2 separate regions of the Homo sapiens genome follow, and region 2 is linked to region 1. Evidence: promoter capture Hi-C in human tissues and cell types (Jung and others, 2019). All regions are on one chromosome and are shown on one strand. Each heading gives the region's core, a stretch centred on a gene start or on the middle of the fragment in contact. The rest is flanking DNA. Distances are from core to core; before and after follow the strand shown.

Region 1 (6,697 bases), core at 1,903-4,402:
GAGGATTACTGTGAAACTACCTGTTTGTATCACAGCGACAAAAGGACTGAGTTCTATTCATTATCTCACCATGAAGGGCAGAAGCCTAGGCCTAAGTTGAACAGTCTGAACTGTGGTAGTGCAGTAAAGTTCTCAGCATACAGCTGTCTCTTGGCAACTGTGGGAGACTGGTTCCAGGACCTCCCTTGATACCAAAATCTGCATATGTTCCCATCTTCTATATAAATTGGCATAGTAACTGCATATAACCTACCTACACCCTCCTGTATACTTTGAATCATCTCTAGATTACTTAAAATACCTAGTACAATGTAAATGCTATGTAAATAGTTGTTATATTGTATTTTTAAATTTTGTTTTTTTTTTTATTGTTGTACTGGTTTTTTTTTTTTTGAGATGGAGTCTTGCTCTGTCACCCAGGCTGGGGTGCAGTGGCGCAATCTCGGCTCACTGCAACCTCCACCTCCCAGGTTCAAGCAATTCTCCTGCCTCAGCCTCCACAGTAGCTGGGACTATAAGCGCTCGCCACCACGCCTTGCTAATTTTTATATTTTTTAGTAGAGACGGGGTCTCAAACTCCTGGCCTCAAATGATCCACCTGCCTCAGCCTCCCAAAGTGCTGGGATTACAGGCATGAATCACCACACTGGGCCTATTTTTTATTTTTAAAAAATATTTTCCATTTGTGATTGGTTGAATCCATGGGTTTGGAACCCATAAATACAGAGAACCGATTGTATACACTCCTATTCTGTGAGGACAGAGGCAGCTTCCTATAAGATGCCTCTTGGAGTGACAGGTGCACACCCAGGTCCTTGAGCAACAACATCATCTGCATTATCTCCAAGATACTCAAGCTTAGGGGATAGATTGGCATGCCAGCAAATACAGAAGCCACAAGGAACACACCACTGGGAGAAGGGACAGAGAAGGTGTTTCCCACAATGTAAGAACCACTTCCACATGGGGGAGTCAAATAAGAAATAAGTGAGTACGCCAAGCCACACATTGTAAGCCAGCAGTCAGCATTCCCCAGAATTAACCAGCCCCACAGACATAGCCACAGGACTTACAGACAAGCATACTGAGCCTGCATATTGCAATGACTCTTGGACACATCTTTACTGAGAACTCACATCATCAATGTGATCCCAGCCCAGCTGTCTTCAGAAATAATAGAACCTAAAACACATCCTATAAACACACCTCTTGGCACTTAAACAGAGTTTTTACTATGTTGATTTCCATTCACTCAATTTTTTTTTCCTTCTATATGTTTCCTATATGTATCCTAATTCCCCATTAGTCTGGGGCTCATTGGGGGCAGAGACATTTCTTCCTCTGCATTGCACAAAAAAAACCACAGAATGAACACACTCAATAAACCATACTAAATGTTTCCCCTCACAGTTAAAATGTATCCGTACCTAATTACTCCATCCTCAGAATTCTCGGATCTAAAAATGCAACCACAGTCTCACATCCGCTGATGTGAAATATTTACATTCTTCCTCAAATTTGTTTTGCTCTAAAATCTTGGAATCACTTTCTTAATTCCTTGCCCAATGGATACTGGATATTCATATGGAAAAAGTATTTCTCCATATTTCAAAGTCTAGTTCTTGGTAGCAGTTTATTACAAGTGCCCAGGCTTCATGATTCATTTCCATGGGTTAGAACCCAGGGGCCTAAGTCACTAGCTCCAAACCTGTTTTGAGATATTTCAATTTTATTTAAAAGGCCCAAGAATCAGGGCTTTGCAAACAGATGTTGTTAGCTGTAATTCCGCTGACTTGACTCTCCCTCCTGCCATTGCTCATTGGTGGCTGCAAGCCCAGCAAGGTCTTTGCAAGCCCTGCAACCTATATACCACCCAGGCTGGGGTTGGCATACCCGCTTATTGCTGTAGCTCCCCCGAGAAAGGGAAGGACCTGTCTAGGGGAGAAAGGTCAGAGTCCGGAGGAGTCTGTGGCAGCACACATTCTTACCGCATCGAACTCCGCTTGATCATCCTCAGGTAGGTCGCTAGTTTCATAAACATCTGGCTCATTCCTGGCCTGCAGGTAGAAGCAGTGACCACCCAACCTCACTACCCAGCATCCAACAACACCCCTTCCCCCACTCCATTTGAATAAGCTAACAGAGAAGGCGGGGTGTGATGTCAGGGTTCTGTCCTTTCTCCTCCACCTGCCCCGTGAGTCAACAGTATGTCAGTTCCCATGTCTCAAGGGGTAGGGATGACAGCGGAAACAATTGGGACCTGACAGTAAACGGTGAGTGTAAGTGATAGCAACGATGTTACCCTAAATCTAGAGGCGGGCAGGTCCTTGGCAATCACTATTGCCAAAGAAGGTGAAGGCTATCCTCCAATTAGGCCCCGTACACCACCACCCTGGCACAAGGATTGAGAGTGACTCAGGACCTTAGTACTCAAGGTCCTGTGTCCCAACCCTCACCTTGAGAAGCAGGCAGGGCAGCACAAAAGGAAGGTACACGCCAGGATTGTCATGGGAGTGGGGGCTGGGGGAGGGCATAGGTTCCCTCAAGGATAGAGCTCCCCATCTGGCACAAGAGGGTTCTGCCAGATGGCAGAACCTCTTCCTTGGCAGGATGAAGGCCATCGTTAAGTGGTCTGGTGTGTGTGTCTGGGGTAGCGATGGGGTCTTATGGAGAGATTTGGGGGGGACATGGGAGGCGTTGACACGGATGGTGGAAAAACTCAGGCACAAGAGGTCAGTACCCGGAGTCGATTTCTGGGCCGAGCTACCGGCGACTGCCGGAAAGGGGGCCTGGTGCGCCGTCCGGCGGCCCGGCCCAGTCGGGTCAGAAGAGTTCGGGGGGTGCTGAGGCCGATCGGAGAACGAGCGGCGGGAGCCCTTGGGCGGAGGATGGGCTGCAGGCGGGAGGGGTCGCGGGCTGGTTTCTGCTGGGGGTCCTTGGGAGGTCGGGGGCGCGGTCCTGGGGAGCCGGGGCCGGTCCTGTACTCACAATGCCGGGAAGGTCGGCGTATTTAGGGTCCGCCATGGCGGCGGCGAGACGGGCTGGGGGACCCGGGCCTCGGTGGAGCCGGGGCCGGTGTTCGGGTAGGGGAGAGGCTGGGTTCGGGTCCCGGGCTAAGGCGGCGGCAAAGGGAGCGGCAGATGAGCAGGAAGTCTCGCGACAGCAGTAGCACAGCAGAAGGGTAAAGCAAAAGTCGCGAGAACAGCCCTGCTGCCACACCCCTGGAGAGGCCGGGATTGGGGAGAACGAGGCCAGGGAATGAGGTAATGGCCAGGGGACGCCGCCTAGGATTGTGGGATGTGTAGTTTTGGTGTACTGGAGCTTGGGCGGGGAGCGACAATAACGAACCTTGGGGAGCTATTTCATACAGCCTTTTCTCTCACTTTTACAGCAAGTCAGTGAAAGAACATTTATAATTCCTGTTTGGGGCTCCCAGGAATAAAATGACTAGATTAAATGATACAGGTAGTCATACTGTGACACAGCCGGGGTTTCAAAAACAAGAAGTTTGCTTGATACTGTGTATTATAAAAACAAAATAAAAACAAGAAGTAAAATTTAGTAAACGCGTAGTGTATGTTAGGAATGAAAAAGTTAGGCAATCTTCTCAAGTAAGGGCTTTCAGATAATTTGAATTTCAGATAATAAGTAGGTGTGTGTGTGTGGTGTGTGGTGTGTGGGTATACTAACCCCCCAAAAATTAAGTATCTGAAATTCACATTTAACTGGGCATCCTGTTTTTGTTTTTTGTTTTTCAAATCTGGCAATTCTATCTGAAGTTCATAAGTAGGTAAGTGGTGTCTCCATGTCTGTCTGAACACTCTCTGGGCTCTTAACTACTTCGTTAATAGTTCTCAGACTTTTATTTATTTTTCAATTTTTTCAATTTTGTGGGTACACAGTAGGTGTATGTATTTATGGGACACATGAGATATTTTGATACAGGCATGCAATGTGAAATAAGCACATCATGGAGAAGAGGGTATCCATCCTCTCAAGCATTTATCCTTTAAGTTACAAATAATCCAATTACTCTTTAAGTTATTTTAAAATGTACAGTTGAGTTATTCTTGACTATAGTCACCCTATTGTGCCATCAAATAGTAGGTCTTATTATACTTTCTAATTTTTTGTACCTATTCACCAACCTTACCTTCCGTTCTCAGACTTTTAAATTTCATCGTTCAATAAAATTAAAACAACTACAAACCTTGAAGATTTGCCTTTTTATTTTATCAAGTAAGTATATTACAAATAGAAAACCTATTATTTACTGTCACCATCATTACTTGGTAGAAAAGCAAGAAGGACACACTCAGAATAAAAGATAGTCCTTTGAAACTTATCAAATCCATCTTTATATTAAAAAAAAACTCACCATTGTTCTTTTGGAGGTGAGGGCATACTCAGTGAACTTTTGTCTCTGACCAGTGACCCTCCATGGACTGGCATTTTGAAACCCCTTTACTAAAGATGCCACCTTGGAGCCCCTGGGGACCCAAGGATGGGATGTTTCCCAGGATGTTTCCTGAGCTTGCAGGATGCTGCAACACTTAGAAATTGTGCCAAACCAAGTGACTAGAGAGTTCCTGAGTTCGGAACTCGTTGTCTTTCTTTCTCCTGGCTCCTCCCCAAGCCTCTATCCCTTTCTCCATAGTCCTACAGCTTTCCTGTCCCATTCCTTATGTTGGACTCTTTTCTTTCAGTTCCCTTAAGATTCAAGGTAGGTTAGAGGTGTAGCCCCAATGTGGGAAACCCCCTGAGTTCTGAATAGTTAGGTCTTGTCTGGCCAGGCTATCAGCCTCTTACTTTTGTCCCATAGTGTCTTAAGTGACCTTAACCACTCACCAGACAGTTGCTGAGCAGAACTTTCCTTTCCTCCTCCTTCTCCCATCCACCCTGCCCTTCCTCTTTGCCTAGAACCTCAACTCCTGCAGTCCAACTCTCTGTTGGCCAGCAGAGGCCTGTGACATGGAGAAAAATCAATTTGGCCAGCTTCTTGGTGGTTCTTTCCAGGGGCTGCAGCAGGAGTCTGACCCAAAGGAAGGAAGGACAAGGAATCTCTGGGCTTGGCATTTCTTTCGTTTTTCTTCCCCCACACCTTTTTTTTTTTGGCCAGGGAAGGGGGCTGAAGTATTGGGACTCTATCCTCCAATGGTTACTGAGACAGAAAACACACACTCCCGTAGGTATCTGAATTTGCCTGAAACCCAAATGCCGGCTTTGCCTCAGACTTCAAAGTCTCTCTGGCCTTACCCATCCCCATCATTGCCCCTCCTTCACTGCTTTCTGACTCCCTTTCTCTTGCAAAGATGTTTCCCACCCATCTTCCTCCCATCCTCAGCCTAGGACACAAAAATAAGTATTGTATCTGCTTTTGAATTCCCATAACCCAGAATGGGAGTTTATCTTCCCTGAAACTGGGGACCTGGTGTGTACGTTGGGGAGACAGTATAGTGCACCTTTGGATGTGGAAGGGGAAGGGAGTAGCCAGAACCTCCCACGACACCCAACTTCATAGGAGTACAGGCAGGGGTCCCCCCAGAAAGCTGAGTGGGTTGGGAGTCCAGCTTCCGTGCATGTGGGGCATGGGATGGGCGTAGGGGGAGAATGAGAAGTGTGATCCCAGTTTGGAGAGAGGACTGTGACGGGTTGGGGGATGCCCTGGAATAAAGGGAGAGGGAGATCTGTTGACCCTTTTCGCTACACAGGCGACAGGCCCACCTCAGTCCCCTTATCCCTTCCAGGGGGTGGAGTCTGAGGGAGGGACAAACAGGTCGGGGGTATAGGGGTGGGATGCAGTGAGTTGGGTGGGGAAGGGTCGAGGGCAAGGTTATCTCCGAACGTTAGGGGTGGGGGAGGGAGGAGAGGAGCGGTGAGGTTCCACCCTTCGGGGGTCGACGTCGAGCCAGCGTCCCCAGTGGAGGGAGCCCCGCCCCCGCTCCTCCATCGCGGCCCCGCCCAGGCCCGCAGCGCGGCGCTGCAGCGCGAGGGGCGGAGAGGCAGAGAGCCCGAAAGGACCAGACGCCCAGGTCGCCCGCATCCCGCTGCCGCAGGAGAGAGACAGCGCGCCCCGGCCCTGCTCCCCAGGCTTCGCCCGGGCGCCCTCAACTCTGTCCCCAGAGACTGAGCACCTGTCCTCCGCCTCGGCCTCTGCTGAGAGCCCTCTCCTCTGGAGCACACACCACCCCTGCAGCCCAAGAAGAGTCCCAGCCCCACGCCGGCTACCACCATGGCGGAGACCAACAACGAATGTAGCATCAAGGTGCTCTGCCGATTCCGGCCCCTGAACCAGGCTGAGATTCTGCGGGGAGACAAGTTCATCCCCATTTTCCAAGGGGACGACAGCGTCGTTATTGGGGTGAGTGTCGCCCAGGAGGGAATTCGGGGAGGGGGCAGGTGGCTGAATCTCCCCGCCCCCCGCAGAGCCTTAGTCTCTGCTGGTCCCTTTGCTCCCCCTCCCCGCCGCTCATCCTTCATCCTCTTCCCCGCAGCCCCTCCTCTCCCCTGCATCAGGATGGCTGGGTGTGGCCTGGCCAGGCCAGCGGCCGAGTCTCTGCAGAGTGGCAGGGGGCTGCTTTCCTACCTTCGGGAGATCCAACTCCCCTTTGCTGCTGTCTGCAGCGTCTCCACCCGTTAGAACCAGTCCCATGTTTTTCTGATGTTTTCCCCTTCTCCACCACCCGCTCCCCAAGAG
Region 2 (6,697 bases), core at 2,245-4,744, 120 kb after region 1:
GACTATCTTAAATTTTCCTTTCTCTGGCCTAGTGTGGTGGCTCATGCCTGTAATCCCAGCACTTTGGGAGGCCAAGGCAGGTGGATCACGAGGTCAGGAGTTTGAGGCCATCCTGACCAACATGGTGAAACCTCATCTCTACTAAAAATACAAAAATTAGCTGGGCATGGTGGCACACAGCAGTAGTCCCAGCTACTCAGGAGGGTGAGGCAGGAGAATCGCTTGAACCCAGGAGGCAGAGGTTGCAGCCAAGATCGCTCCACTGCACTGCAGCCTGGTGACAGAGTGAGACTCTGCCTCAAAAAAATTTTCCTTTCTCTGAGCACTTGGGAGGTTACCTCTGGTAAATTTCAAAAGCCAGAAATATCGGCCATTTAGCCTGGCTAAAATTAGGTAATAGGAAATTTTAAATGGACTTCATTAAAAGTGCTATGATTAAAAGTCAGCTTAATTAAAAGCAGATATTCAAGCTCTAATATCCTGGACTCCTTGGGAAAAACAGGAGGCACCAGAAACCCCTTTCCTGGCTCTGTTTTTCCAAGGGCTCCACCCTAAAGCCAATAACCAATTGAGAAACTTAAAAACTGGCAAATGAAAAATCTTACAACTACTGTAGTAATCTTCTGTCTGTCTTTCTGTGTAACTATATATGGGTTGTGTGTAACGCTTATATAAAAGAGCTCTATTAATTGGTTTAAACAAAAATAAGCTCTTAAAAGCAAAATAAAAACTGTAATGCCTTTTAGTTCATGTAACTTTAGTAATCTTTGGCAAATAAAAATAGCTTTAAAGATTATTGATAAAATAAAAACATTTTGTCTAAATCATGCAGGTCAGATATTAGGTTTGCTAAAGGCTTTAAGGTCATAAACTGCTTTGACTTTTGAAAATTGTTCAATATATTTTGAAGACATTAAATTCTAAATAAGGCATGGGGATACATGGAATTAGCCATGCCCCCTAGCTATGCAAGGAAGGTCATAAAGAAAGGAGATTTTATATAAGAAAGGATGTTGTATGGTAAATTCTTGTCCTAAAGTAAAATGACTGGTTGTTTAAAAGAGGGATGTTTAGTGCAAGTCATAAAGTCTAAACATGTTGTACATGGTCTGTGTAAGTTGTGAAAGAATTTATGAACAGAAATTTATGCCAAAAATGTTGTACAATTTAAAGGTGGTTTGGCCTCCTAAATGCTTCATGAAACGCCGCTATGACTCTTAACTGTACAGCTTGCCTGCTTTACAGCTAGGTGAGGCCCGGGACACATGGAGTTAAATGCTGGAAAGAGTCAGACCTTATCTGCATTTCTGTCTGGGTCCTAGGCTCCACACCTAGTACATAATTAAAATCCCTTACTTACCAAGGTTTTCACCAAAAGTAAAATTACTAGGAGTTAACATCGTAATATGTAATTGAGACTACTGAAAAAATAAGTTTACATACAAGATGTGTAGGGAGAATAAAATGTGTTTTTGTACGAGATTATAAGAAAGTATGGGAATGTAAAGTTTTGCCTAGGTTAGAGGGTTAAAGGATTGTTTAAATTAAATAAAGCTAAAGGTTTGAACAAGTTGTAAAAGGTTTATAAAAATTAACAGATTCTATGTGTGAACATATTGGCTAAAGTTAAAATGGCATTATTTAGTTTTTTTCCCCATAAATTGGACATTGGAATAGAAGCGCAACAGAGTTTCATTAGAACATTGTTCTGCTCTGAGAAAAAAATACTGTAAAGTGTTATAAAATGTTTATATAAATCTTACCTTATAGTCAAACTAATTAAAACTGAATAGATTTATAAAATGTTTTTAAAAACTAGCTTTAACATTAAAAATAACATGAATGGAAACAAAAAATTTGGTTTTCTATTTTAAAAAGGATTTTTATGTAATATTAAAAGATAATGAAAGGTTTTTGTTTACCTTTTAAGTAAACTATAAAAGGAAAAAGTGGGGGAAAGGAAAGAAAGGAGACAGAATCAGTTGTCCTCATGCTATCTTCGTCTTCACTGGGTCTTGTTTTGAAAGCTGAGTCTCCTCTTTATCAGAATAATGTTTTTTCCTTAAAAAATTTTTTTTTTTGAGACAGAGTCTCACTGGAGTGCAGTGGTGTGGTCCTGGCTCACTCCAACCTCCGCCTCCTGGGTTCAAGTGATTCTCCTGCCTCAGCCTCCCGAGTAGCTGAGGCTGCAGGCACCTGCCACCATGCATGGCTAATTTCTGTCTTTTTAGTACAGGCGGAGTTTCACCATGTTGGCCAGGCTGGTCTTGAACTCCTGACCTCAAATGATCCAAAGTGGTGGGCCTCCCCAAGGTGGTGGGATTACAGGCATGAGCCATGATGCCTGGCCTAAAAAATTTTCGAGTTATCATTTTGGCTAAATGAGTGACTTATGGTAATCTGAGAGTCTATTTTGTAACAGCCAATGTTTTAAACCTTTGGTATTTAACAAATCTTTCAAAATCAAGCTCTAGATTATCATGCTAAATCAGCCAACACTAAAATTGTTTAAATGTACAATTTGAATGAACTCCATGGTCTAAGTCAAATTACCTATGATAACCCATTAGTTATCAGTTCTATGCACCTAAATTGGAAAACAACTGGTATTCCAGAGGACATATGTTAAGCATGGTCTCACTAAGAACCAGGACAGCTGCCTTGTCCTTCCTGAATCCTTAAAGCTTTTGTTATTAAAGGTTTTTCATTCCATGACTGGTCATGGAAAAGATAAAATAATCCAAATTGAATATATTAATGTGGTGACTTATAAATTAAGGAAATAGTTTAAAACCAATGTTTGGTTCCATATTCCCAGGAAGACAATCAAAGCTTCAGGTACATTTGGCTACCTGATGGGCCATTTAAACATTTATAAAGGAATTTCACTCAATTGTCATTTTCAATGCATGTTTTCTGGTGTATAAAAGCTTTTCCATGCAAGAGGGCTGATCTTATAGCAGTAGATTATTATGCTACAGTGTATTTTAACCAGGTAAAGAAAGCTTTTTATGGTTCACTGAGGACAGTCCCTTCACAATCTAGAACCTGAAGATTGGATCTTCTGAGAACATCAGAGAAAGGCCGTCTTTGCCATCCACACTACAGAAAAACTTTGGAGCCTCGAACCTTGGGTTTATAATCTCACAACTGAGAAGGGTCCCTCCACACTCCTGCAACTGTACACCTGTTGGAACCCTTAAGGTAAAACTAATCAGGAAAGTTTCTCCCCAGAAGAAGATGGCATCCTTGATGTGAACAGCTTTTCCACAAGATCACGGATCAAAACTTCTACTATCATGAGACTCTTATATTTGAATTTTTTTTCTTGTTTATGCCTCTATGAACAATAGAAATGAAAAGGGGGTCTATTATGTGCTCTTACAGGGTATGCTTTTCTTTGTGAAGGATTTTGCAGCCAGCCTTATACATGAATAAACTTACACTTTAATAGATAAAAGATGAAGGCCCAATGTAGGTGAGAAACTTTAGTGATACATACATTGCCTCAAAATCAGTCAAAACTCCTCTTAACCCATATCATGGATTAAAGAGAACATTGACAGAAGGCCTTCACTCTTCTAGAAGGACATCATTTGTTCGGTCCTTTTTCCATGGTTTAGAATAAGAGAGGCAATAATTAGAAATGTCTCCCTCATAATAGGCTCTACAGCAAATTATACTTTAAAGGCTATTGTTACACAACAGACTTTAAATTCTCTTGTGAAAGTTATGCTAAATAATAGAATTGGCTAAACAGAAAAGTACCTGTGCAGCTGCTGATATTTGTGGCCTATGGAGAAATATATCAAATGTAAATTATAAAAATTCAGTTGTAGGGGATTAATGCAAAGACCACTTAGTTAAGTGAGTAGACTCTAGCTAGCTCATTCATTAATCTATTTAATTTTAGGTGGTTTGGTTTATGGGGACCCTGGGTAAGGAACATACACCAAACTCTTGGGGTATGGCCTCCCCATACTCATAGTAACAGTCTCCCTGGTGCACTGTATTCTCTCAAAGGTTTTAAATGTTTGCATGTAGCCATCTCTAGAACGCCAAATGGTCTCTCTTCAACTGGAATGACAAAAGTTGAAAGAGCCTTCCTTCCTTCCTTCCTTCCTTTCTTTCCTTCTTCCTTCCTTCCTTTCTTTCGACGGTCTCCCTCTGTTGCCGAGGCTGGACTGTACTGCCGTGATCTCGGCTCACTGCAACCTCCCTACATTGGGCTCCCGTGACTCTCCTGTCTCGGCCTACCGAGTGCCTGGGATTGCAGGCACATGCCGCCATGCCTGACTGGTTTTTGTATTTTTGGTGGAGATGGGGTTTCACTGTGTTGGCTGGGCTGGTCTCCAGCTCCTGACCGCGAGTGATCTGCCCACCTCGGCCTCCTGAGGTGCTGGGATTGCAGACGGAGTCTCACTCACTCAGTGCTCAATGTTGCCCAGGCTGGAGTGCAGTGGCGTGATCTTGGCTCGCTACAACCTCCACCTCCCAGCTGCCTGCCTTGGCCTCCCAAAGTGCTAAGATTACAGCCTCTGCCCGGCCGCCACCCCATCTAGGAAGTGAGGAGCATCTCTGCCTGGCCACCCATCGTCTGGGATGTGAGGAGCACCTCTGCCCGGCTGCCCCGTCTGGGATGTGAGGAGCGCCTCTTCCTGGCCGCCCTGTCTGGGAAGTGGGGAGCGCCTCTGCCTGGCTGCCCATCATCTGGGATGTGAGGAGCGCCTCTGCCTGGCCGCCACCCCGTCTAGGAAGTGAGGAGCGCCTCTGCCCGGCCACCTCGTCTGGGAAGTGAGGAGCGCCTCTGCCCAGCTGCCCTGTCTGGGAAGTGAGGAGTGCCTCTGCCCGGCTGCCCATCGTCTGGGAGGTGAGGAGCACTTCTGCCTGGCCGCCCCATCTAGGAAGTGAGGAGCACCTCTGCCCGGCCACCACCCCCTCTGGGAGGTGGGGAGCGCCTCTGCCTGGCCGCCGCCCCATCTGGGAAGTGAGGAGCGCCTCTGCCCGGCAACTGCCCCGTCTGGGAAGTGAGGATCATCTCTGCCTGGCCGCCCCATCTGGGAAGTGGGGAGTGCCTCTGCCTGGCCACCCCGTCTGGGAAGTGGGAAGTGCCTCTGCCCAGCCGCCCTGTCTGGGAAGTGGGGAGCACCTCTGCCCGGCTGCCCATCGTCTGGGATGTGAGGAGAGCCTCTGCCTGGCCACCACCCCGTCTAGGAAGTCAGGAGCACCTCTGCCCGCCCGCCTCATCTGGGAAGTGAGGAGCGCCTCTGCCCGGCCGCCCTGTCTGGGAAGTGAGGAGCGCCTCTGCCCGGCCACCCATTGTCTGGGAAGTGAGGAGCGCCTCTGCCCTGCCGCCCCATCTGGGATGTGAGGAGCGCCTCTGCCCAGCCACCCCGTCTGGGAAGTGAGGAGCGCCTCTGCCTGGCTGCTGTGCAATCTTCCAAGTGTGAAGTGACAGGCTTTCTGCAGGTGTACCCAACAGCTCCGAAGAGACAGTGACTATCGAGAACGGGCCATGATAATGATGGTGGTTTTGTTGAAAAGAAAAGGGGGAAATGTGGGGAAAAGAAAGAGAGATCAGATTGTTACTGTGTCTGTGTAGAAAGAAGTAGACATAGGAGACTCCATTTTGTTCTGTACTAAGAAAAATTCTTCTGCCTTGGGATTCTGTTGATCTATAACCTTACCCCCAACCCCGTGCTCTCTGAAACATATGCTGTGTCAACTCAGGGTTAAATGGATTAAGGTCGGTGCAAGATGTGCTTTGTTAAACAGATGCTTGAAGGCAGCATGCTCATTAAGAGTCATCACCACTCCCTATTCTCAAGTACCCAGGGACACAAACACCGCAGAAAGCCTCAGGGACCTCTGCCTAGGAAAACCAGAGACCTTTGTTCACGTGTTTATCTGCTGACCTTCTCTCCACTATTATCCTATGACCCTGCCACATCCCCCTCTCCGAGAAACACCCAAGAATGATCAATAAATACTAAAAAAAAAGAAAAAAAAGTAAAAAAAAGAAGAACAAAGCTATAGAAAAACAAAAAACAACAAGAACAAAAAGCTGAAAGAAATGTGCAACAATGAGGATACCATAACCTATGAATGACACACTGAGACCGGAAACCTAAAATGATGGTAACTGAGAATGGCGCTAAGGCCCTAAGTTTTGGTCACACTCTCACCTAAGTGAGAACCTGGCCAGAAAAGGGGAATTTTTTAAAACAAAATTATGGAAGGCCATTATTTTGGACAGAGCTCATGCACTAGGCCCTAACCAAATGAAACTAGAATGGAGTCACTTGTGCTAAATATGACACAATCAAACTAAGGCTTTAAGAAAACACATAGATCCTAGAACAGATCAGGTTTTGTTTTTCTCCTGTAAACAGATGTTCCAGCATAAGGAGATACCCTCTACTCAGTGCTTATTCTCTCCTTGCAAAACCCACTATTCTACTGTTTCCCAGTGGGTTTCAAAACCACATAAGTACATTTACAACAGTGACAGTAACATCAATGACTAAGGTTTTGGCCAATCTCTCAAAATTGAGAAAATGACCAAAATGGGAGAATTGTTAAAGCAAACTAAATATGGCCTGAGAAGGACTCTGTACTTCCATATTTGAGACCTTGTGGATGAACTGTAACTTAGCGTAATAGTCAGACAAAATTGAAAACCTAACTTAATAGTATG

Evidence for each region. Contacts are between HindIII fragments. The study calls those that stand out against the background at their distance.
Region 2: a fragment that was not itself captured here is called in contact with the fragment with the promoter of DCTN2 in region 1 in 2 of the 25 tissues and cell types used here (bladder and heart left ventricle).

What each region holds. Positions count from the first base shown.
Region 1 is chr12:57,544,040-57,550,736 of GRCh38, forward strand. DCTN2 (dynactin subunit 2) reads right to left here and starts at 3,153. Exons shown (of 14, transcript NM_001261413.2): 1 at 2,989-3,153; 2 at 1,989-2,057. The coding sequence starts at 3,024. KIF5A (kinesin family member 5A) reads left to right here and starts at 6,005. Exons shown (of 29, transcript NM_004984.4): 1 at 6,005-6,361. The coding sequence starts at 6,233. RefSeq lists enhancers at 3,282-3,421, 6,340-6,697 and a silencer at 5,732-6,071. The HindIII fragment of the contact is 16,785 bases long and covers 1-6,697 here.
Region 2 is chr12:57,660,340-57,667,036 of GRCh38, forward strand. No RefSeq gene overlaps it. Among named protein-coding and RNA genes, the nearest start is that of OS9, 30 kb to the right of the region's middle. The HindIII fragment of the contact is 6,741 bases long and covers 125-6,697 here.